Linked DNA regions of Homo sapiens: regions 1 and 3 are each linked to region 2. The links are contacts of gene promoters, found by promoter capture Hi-C in blood cells and fetal thymus (Javierre and others, 2016). All regions are on one chromosome and are shown on one strand. Each heading gives the region's core, a stretch centred on a gene start or on the middle of the fragment in contact. The rest is flanking DNA. Distances are from core to core; before and after follow the strand shown. Region 1 holds the start of SCAMP2 (secretory carrier membrane protein 2). Region 2 overlaps LOC124903524 (a long non-coding RNA gene). Region 3 holds the start of ULK3 (unc-51 like kinase 3).

Region 1 (2,744 bases), core at 233-2,732, 500 kb after region 2:
AAAAATACAAAAATTAGCCGGGTGTGGTGGTGCACACCTGTAATCCCAGTTTCTCGGGAGGCTGAAGCACGAGAATCACTTGAACCCAGGAGGCTGAGGCTGCAGTGAGCCGAGATCGCGCTACTGCACTCCAGCCTGGGCGACAGAGCAAGAATTGTCTCAAAAAACAAAACAAAACAAAACAAAAAAAAAGGAAAAGAAAGAAAGCAGGAAGATTGTTTCTTCCTTGATTGCTGTTCAAAAGGTCAGGCCAGGCGTGGTGGCTCACACCTGTAATCCCAGCACTTTGGAAGGCCGAGGCGGATGGATCACCTGAGGTCAGGAGTTTGAGACCAGCCTGGCCAACACGGTGAAACCCCGTCTCTACTAAAAGTATGAAAATTAGCTGGGTGTGGTGGCATACGCCTGTAGTCCCAGCTACTCAGGAGGCTGAAGCAGGAGAATTGCTTGAACTCGGGAGGCAGAGGTTGCAGTGAGCGGAAATCGTGCCAATGCACTCCAGCCTGGGCGACAAAGCGAGACTCCGTCTCAAAAAAAAAAAAAAAAGTCAGGCCAGCTCACACGTCAGTGCATCTCAACTATGTTGCCACCACACACAGTTCCATCAGACAAACGTTCCCTGTGGGTCCAGAATTTTTCACAGTCCCCCGCACCTCTCCTCTCTCCCTAACCCGGGCTCTCCTATCTGGTCAAAACCCACTCCAAACTAGACCCATGGCCAAAATGTGGAATTCTTATCAAGGCCATTTTTCAACTTGGGCTACCTTCCCGCCCTCTCCCATCTTTCTTTCCCTGACAAATCTCAGGGGCTCTCCTGTACTTTATACACTAGTTTGGCTGGTGGTGGAGCGGTGGCAGGTGTCCTGGGCTTTTCCCACATTTTTCCCCTCCACCAGAGGCTTCACCACCTCCTCATATGTTGCTGTCACCCCCTCTTCTAAAGTGACTCAAGACAGGTGTCTATCCAAGAATGAGGGAATGCGATAGCCACATTTCGCTTCTCCCTGACGCTAGGAGACTTCCGGAAGGGTCCGACCGTACCTGCTCCAGTCCCCTTCCCTAGCACAGCCCAGCCTCCGGGTGCTAGAAGACCCCACTGTCTCCAACACTTCAGCGCCCCGCCTCCTCTGCAGTTCCACCTGCTGCTAGTCGCGCCCCTCACGCGTTACGATAGGCCAGACCTCAAAGCCCGCTCTCCCATTGGGCAGATGACCCGTCCCTCCTACGCCACGTCTCCCGGCTCTAGCGAGAGGCCCGGGCGGCGGCCGTGGGCCCTAGGGAAATCTGAGAGCTGGATGGCGGGAGAGGGGCTCTACCTGGAAGGGGTTTACATCCACTGGGTCCGCGAAGGGGTTGGTGTCGAAAGCCGACATGGTGATCGGGGGCCAGCGGGCGAACTCCGCGAACGCTGCTGCCTCCGGGCACCCAGACCCAGCGGCGCTTCGTGTAGACCCTCCACTTCCGGGAGCGAGGCAGCGGTTCTGGCGCAGGCGCGATGCCCTCCCCCGAGGGCGTGGCCCTATGACGGCACCGGGGTCGCTCCGCCCCCCCCCCCCCCCCCCCCGCCCAGCCCACAATAGTGCGGTGGGTGGGCATTCGGCTTCCGTCCACATCTTCGCTCTGCTGGGGATTCAGGGGTCTTGGCTGCGCGGAGCGTCTACGGAGCCAGAGGCGTGGCCGGAGTCCTTCCCAACTGCCTATCAATCTGACACCTTCCAATTTTATGTTTCTAAAGCAAACTCTCAAAAGTGGGACAGGAAACAGCCCCTTCACTTCTCTGTAGACCAAGTTTGGGAAGAAGTCCAAACTGATCCCTGGGCAAAGGACAGGGGTGACAGGTGAGGCCAGAGGCCTTGGGAGAACTAGGAAAGCGCTTCTTCTGCAGAACGTGCTCGGGGAAAGAGAAGTGCCAGGACCATCCAGCAGTCCTCCACCCGAGCTGAGCCTGCTTCTTCTAGGGCTGCTCGCCCTCTGATGTCGTTTCATCGTTTTAGGGACGAGGGTTCCTGGGCCCATCAGCTTTGGGACCTGAGTTGGGACTTGAACCTGGACATCAAACATTTATGAAGTGACTCACGGAATTCAGCAACACAGCCTCAATCATGGGGGAGGTGGCTGCTTCACTCTCCACAGCTCCGCTTTCCCCCGCCCCCGCCCCCCACAGGGTCTCACTGTCGCCCAGGCTGGAGTGCAGTGGTGCAATCATGGCTCACTGCAGCCTCGAGCTCCTGGGCTCAAGCAATCCTCCCACCTCAGCCTCCTGAGTAGCTGGGACTACAGCTGGTCACCACCATACCCAGCTAATTTATGGATTTTTTGTAGAGATGGGGATCTCACTATATTGCCCAGGCTCGTCTCAAACACCTGGGCTGAAGTGATCCTCCCGCCTTGGCTTCCTAAAATGCTAGGATTATACTCATGAACCACTGTCTGGCCAAATCCACCTTATTTATTTGGATCTGTCTGGTATTATTCATCTCTGCTGTCACCGAATCCCAGCCACTGTCATTTTTACCCTGAACTAATACAGTGCTGTTAATTGGTCTATTGTTCTTCATGTTGTAATCAAAGATATGTTTAAAGGGGGCAAAATTATCACAGAACTTTGTTAAAATTTTTCAATTAATTTCCATAAAGGGCTGGGTGCGTGGCTTATGCCTGTAATCCCAGTACTTTGGGAGGCAGAGGTAGGAGGATCACTTGAAGCCAGGAGTTCGAGACCAGCCTAGGCAACATACCAGGAC
Region 2 (2,769 bases), core at 1-2,500:
TTCTCAGAGTAGAGGGTGTACACATTTAGACCCATCTAAACGTTGCCTAGGACGGGGAACATGATTTTATTCATTGCAGGCAGCTTGGATGGATAAACAGAAAATCCAAATCACAGACTTAAAGAAGATAGAAGTGTATTCTCTCTCCCATAAAGGATGTCCAAGGCTGGGCAGTCCAGGGTGAGTGTGTCAGTCCCAGCAAAATGCCAGGCTCCATCTTCCTGCTTCACCACGAAGACATTTGGTTGGCATTTCTAAGGCCACCCGATGGTCCAAGCTGCTGCTGGAGCATTAACCGTGTTGCTGGCCAGAAGGCGGAAGAACTCAAGAAGACCAAAAGGGGCCCTCCCTGAAGAGCCAGCTTCATTTAAGCCCCTTCCTCAAAGTCCCACACGAGTCCAACCATATCTGATTGGTGGGAACTTAACCACATTGAGGCAGGAGAATAGGGAATTAGGGCAACCAAGGATTAAGGTAGGAACAAAAGAAGAGCAGGTGCAGCCAGTTCACATAAGCAAAAGGCACAGCAGGTACAGCCAATTCTAGGCAGGATTAGGCAACATACAGGCCACATCTTCACTTCTGTGATAACCACAGGCCAAGTCGCCACTTAAGCCTCTAATTGGTCACGGATCAATCCTTCATTGGATGTAACTGATTGGAGGCCTCTGGAGGGCACCGGGGGTGTTCATGTTCTTTAGCTTAATAAAATCTCTAATTGAAGGGGCTCCTGAGCCACTTGCTCAAGCCCACTCTTGCTCTGTGAATTGTACTTGCACATCTTCAATAAATCTGTGCCTTCATTACTCCATTCTTTCGTTGCTTTGTCTTTTGTTGCTTTGTGCGTTTTGTTCAATTCTTTAACATGCCAAGAACCTGGACAACTCAGTCAAGACCTTCCATTCAGTAACCACATGACTGTACCTAGGTACAGGGAGGTAGGTACAGGGAGGCTGGACAATGTCGTTTTGCTCTGGATGGCAATACATCCGCTAGCAGAGGTGCTGGCCAGACCATAGACATAATAATACAGTTTTGTATCATGAAACAAGCAACGGTTTTGGAGCCACATGGACTCAGGTTCAAATCCTAGTTCAACCACTGAGTGGTCGCGTGGCATAGGGCAAGACACTTGAGCTACTTGAGACTTAATTTTTTCATATTTAAAATGGAGATAATCAGACCTGCCTCTCAGAGCTGTTGCAAGATAAAAAAAAGCACTTAAAAGATTCAGAGGTTCTCAAAGTAGCCCACCTAATATCATTGCCTTAAACATCACCCTCTTGCTCAGCTTAGGGTATGGACACCATACATGAAAATTAGGTGATTCTTTCCCTGTTTGTTTTCACATGCACAGCTCAGGGTATTTCACTAAGTCAGATGGTCCCCCCGACTCCACCCTATTTCTTTCTCTGAGGGCATTTCATCTGTTTCGGTGTCACCCCACTCTAACAGTTTAAAGGGAGGAGGGAGAGGCAAGGACCTAAGATGTTTGGAGAGAAATCAGCCCTAGAGATGGGACTCAAGGTTATGGCATTTCTCAGCTTAAGTATCAGATGTGGCTGTTAAAACTATTATTAAATAGATTCCTTTTGCTGTTTGGGGTTTTTCCTGTTTGTTTGTTTGTTTGGCCTTGGGAGGGGTCATGTGGCCATATGGTAAAGAGACATTCCCAAGGAAGGAATGAAACACATTGTTCCTGCCCGGGCCAGGGCTTATGTAGTCAGGGATTATGAAGACTGAATGTTCTGTGTCCTGGAGGAAAGGGGTCCCTGCTTTGGGGACTGTTTCTTTTTATGGATCCTGGGCTATTCCTTCTGTCCAACAAGAGTGAAATGAAGGGAAATACGGGACAGAGTTGACATAGCTTTAGGGGCAGGAGTAATTGGGGTAAAGGAGGGGAGAAGACTGGACCCAGAAGTCAAAGGCCCAGAGCCCCCGGCAAAGGAGTGTTGCCAGGTTGGGAGCCTCTGCAAAGGGCATCTCTGAGGGCTGTTCCTAGGGGCCCACCCATTGCAGCCCTCCTATGAGAACTTAACTCCACATGGTGAACTGGAACCTGAGCCCTAATCTTAGCTACCCAGGGCAGCCTCTCCCTGCTCCTCTAAATCCTCATCACTCCTGTAAGTCCAGAGGAACCCCCACACCCCAACTTGAAGGGTGAATGAGTACCCAGGCACTCCCTGCCTGGGTGCACACTGTGGCTCCTTGTCCCCCTCTATACATTGCCCAGGCTGGCTTTGAACTCCTGGGCTCAAGCAATTCTCCTGGCTCGGCCTCCTGAGTAGCTGGGAATACAGGCGCGTGCCACCGCGTTCAGCTTCATTTTTATTTTTACAGCTTCACTTCACTTCCTCAGTGCAAACATGTTAAAATATTAAAAATTTGCTGTAAAGTTTTTGAAAGGATATTTATAATTTTGCTCTTGAAACCATTTGGCTAGGAGTGACTGATTTAAATTACAATTGGGAATTCTTGTGAAATGAGAAAAACCTAGCCCACACATTCTTTCAGATGTAATGAAATTTTTATGAATACTAAATTTAACAGTTAATGAGGTTGATATAATGTTACAGTTGGACACTTGATTAAGAATTTATTGATTTCCATTTTGCAGTGTTCTTATTTGAGAGCCAATCATTTTTTCTTCAGCTGTGAAATATTCACATGGGCCCTTGGGAGGCCCCCGCTGCGGGCTTCTCTAGCGGGCAGTACATAAGTAACCAGGCCAACAGCTCTTCCCTGTCCTCCCCCTGACACACCTCGCAC
Region 3 (2,700 bases), core at 17-2,516, 470 kb after region 2:
CCTCATCTCTCCCACAGCGTCCTTGAGCAAGGGTTGAGTGTATGAGATAAACAGGACCATAAAATTTCAGGCTGTGCAGGAGGCAGCTGCAATGCGTGCCAAGGCTCTAAGCCTGGGGGAGGGGTGGGATGGTGGGGGGCAGAGAACAAGGGACAGAGTGTCAGGCTGGTGTCACAGGCCTTTACCTAATTGCTGCATGAAGACACGCGCCACCTTCTCAGGCAGAATCCTGCGGGTATGGATGAAGCGAGACAGGTCGCCCCCTGCGCAAAACTCCATGATGAGGTAGATATTGTCACTGTCCCACTGTGTTTAGAGGCAGAGAGGCGGCCTGAAGAGAGTGTCCCTTCTCCAGCTCCCTTTGGCAGCGGCCCCGCCCCAGGCTCACACCTGAAAGTCTTTCAGCTGCACAATGTGGGGATGTCGAATGCCCTTGAGGATCTCAATCTCCGTGAGGAGGTTCTCCACCGATGCCTTGTTCAGACTTTTCTTGGCTACACACTTTATGGCTACCACTTCACGAGTGTCCTTCTGCGAGACAGGAGATTTGGGGACTCTGCCTTGAGGGGGCCAGGACCCTTGTCTGACTGGAAAGGCTCTATCTGGTTCCCTCTGTTCCCCCACCCCGCCCCTCCCCGGGTCTACCTACTGCACACCAGCACCGGGCTTCCCAGCTTTCCCTTGTGAGGCCAGTGAGGAATGCTGATTCTGGAATCCTGGCTTCCCGACACAGCCTCAGCCTGGTCTTCTCCAACCCTCGGCTAGCTGATCCATTTCTTTGCATTCTGGAGTGCTCCCGGCAGAGGCATGTCACTCAGGGTTCTAGAACCGCCCACTCTGCCTCCCAACTGGCTCCAGTCCCAGACTCCTCCCAGCCCACCAGGTAACCTGTTTTGAGCCTGTTCTTCAGCCACTGACCCTGCAGGTGGGTGCAGGTGCGCTCTTTAAGACCTAAGCGTGGCAGTCGGCTCCAACCTCCGCCGAGGGTCAGCTGGGGCGAGGCCGGCCTCCCGCCCCTAACTATTCCCACACTGTCGCTAACCTCTCAGAGTCTCCCCGGCCGGCACCAGCCGAGCTAGCTCGGGCGGGCACGGGGCCATCGGCCGGCACCCACCTTGGCGTAGGCCTTGTACACCGTGGCGTACGTGCCGCTGCCCAGGCGCTCGGTGAGGATGAAGCCGTCCAGGCGCGGGGGACCCCAGCCGGGCCCCGCCATTCCGGCCGCCTGCGCCCGCGCGGGCGCTTCCTCGCTGCGGGCGGCGGTTCCGGCGGGTTGCGGGGCGGGCCGAGCACTGGGTGGCTCCACGCTGCCCCCAGCGCCGCCCGCCGGAAATGCAGCGCGCATCGGGGACGCGGATCCGCCCGGCTCCCGGCGCCCCTCCCCTGTCTCTGGGCCTCGCCGGGTCACGCGCCCCGCCAGTTCCTGCAGGGCCCACGTGGGGATACGGAGGCCCCGCGAGCCTAGAAGTTAACAACGGAGGACGGCCGGCGTGGTCTCCGGGGACTCCTAGCGGGCGCAGAGGCGTCTAGAGATCGCCCACGTGAGGGCGCGGGCGGCGGAGCGGGCGTGTGTGGGGGCGACGGCGTCCGGGAGGCTCCCAGGGCCCCTCCCCAGGACCCGCAGCTCTGAAAGGAGAGCTACTGGCACGAGAAGGCGCCTTTGGAAGAGGCCGCGTTGGCTTCCCAGGCCTCCCAGCTGCTTTTCACTTTTCTGAGGAAGGGCCTTGACCTATTTATTGCATCTTAACTGTCCCCGCTCTCCAATCTTAGCAGCGGCGCCCAGCCCCTAATCCTGTGGGCTGCCCCGTCCTCCCAAGTCCACCAGACATGTGGACCCGTGTTGTCTGAAAATGTTTTTATTTTTACTTAAGCACAAAAATTGAGACGTAACATATACATTTGTACATAGAGGGGAAAAAATACCAGAAAGGAGTTCATAAAACCCCAGCCGCTGCCAGTATCATTCAGTGGCTGGGGCCTGCGGCTGTCTCGGGCCCAGAGCCGGAGGCTAGTTTTGTGGGAAGGCACCCCAGTCCACACACCCACTCGGCAGCCTCGAGGGACAGGGTGCTGGTTTTAAGGGTGGACTCCTACGTGTCCCATCACAGTGACACACCCCCCAGGGTGTGAACCAGACTCCACTGGGTATTAGGGGGCCCTCCGAGAGATGGCTTATCAGTCCCTGCTGAGGGATGCGGTTCTGGACTGGCTGGCCCTGCCCTTCCTGAAAGTCTGGATGCTGCTGATGGGGAGCATGGGCGGGGCAGGTGGCATCTGAGGCAGAGACAAAGGCAGCCGTCCCTCGGTTCGGGGAGGGGGGGGGGTAGTCACAGCAAACAGGGCCAAACCAACCACACCAGGACAGGCAGACCCCACCCTCCTAGAAGACGCTGGACGCTAGGCAGGACAGCTTGGGGTCAGTGTCCTTGGTCCCTTCCAGTCCCCAAATCCCAACCAACGGCATTGTACATTCAGAAAGTCTGAAGAGAGTAAGGCTCAGCAAGGGGAGGGCTCCAGAGGGCTCAAAGTGCCATCCCCTGCAGGAGGGTGCAGGGGGATAAAGGGCTATTAATCCGTTTCTCAGGAACACGAGGCAGGGAAGAGCTTAAGGCAACCAGCCTTCTCTGGATCCGTTTATGAGGCAGAGAAGAGCTTGAGGCAACCAGCCTTCTCTGGAAGCCTGGAGACCACTGGAGTGAC

The links. The method cuts DNA at HindIII sites, captures the fragments that hold promoters and counts their contacts. A CHiCAGO score of 5 or more calls a contact.
Region 1: the fragment with the promoter of SCAMP2 here is called in contact with a fragment that was not itself captured in region 2 in 2 of 17 cell types (M2 macrophages and total B cells); the score reaches 6.7 in M2 macrophages.
Region 3: a contact is called between the fragment with the promoter of ULK3 here and a fragment that was not itself captured in region 2, in 5 of 17 cell types (M2 macrophages, M1 macrophages, total B cells and 2 more). The highest score is 10.2, in M2 macrophages.

What each region holds. Positions count from the first base shown.
Region 1 is chr15:74,871,883-74,874,626 of GRCh38, forward strand. It overlaps SCAMP2 (secretory carrier membrane protein 2), which reads right to left and starts at 1,483. Exons shown (of 9, transcript NM_005697.5): 1 at 1,317-1,483. The coding sequence starts at 1,373. The HindIII fragment of the contact is 8,993 bases long and covers 1-2,744 here.
Region 2 is chr15:74,370,402-74,373,170 of GRCh38, forward strand. LOC124903524 (a long non-coding RNA gene) reads left to right here. Exons shown (of 2, transcript XR_007064709.1): 2 at 1-811. Among named protein-coding and RNA genes, the nearest start is that of CYP11A1, 4.1 kb to the left of the region's middle. The HindIII fragment of the contact is 3,316 bases long and covers 1-2,769 here.
Region 3 is chr15:74,841,890-74,844,589 of GRCh38, forward strand. ULK3 (unc-51 like kinase 3) reads right to left here and starts at 1,267. Exons shown (of 16, transcript NM_001099436.4): 1 at 1,115-1,267; 2 at 391-531; 3 at 186-306. The coding sequence starts at 1,216. SCAMP2 (secretory carrier membrane protein 2) reads right to left here. Exons shown (of 9, transcript NM_005697.5): 9 at 1,841-2,700. RefSeq lists enhancers at 261-786, 855-1,766 and a silencer at 1,029-1,748. The HindIII fragment of the contact is 10,695 bases long and covers 1-2,700 here.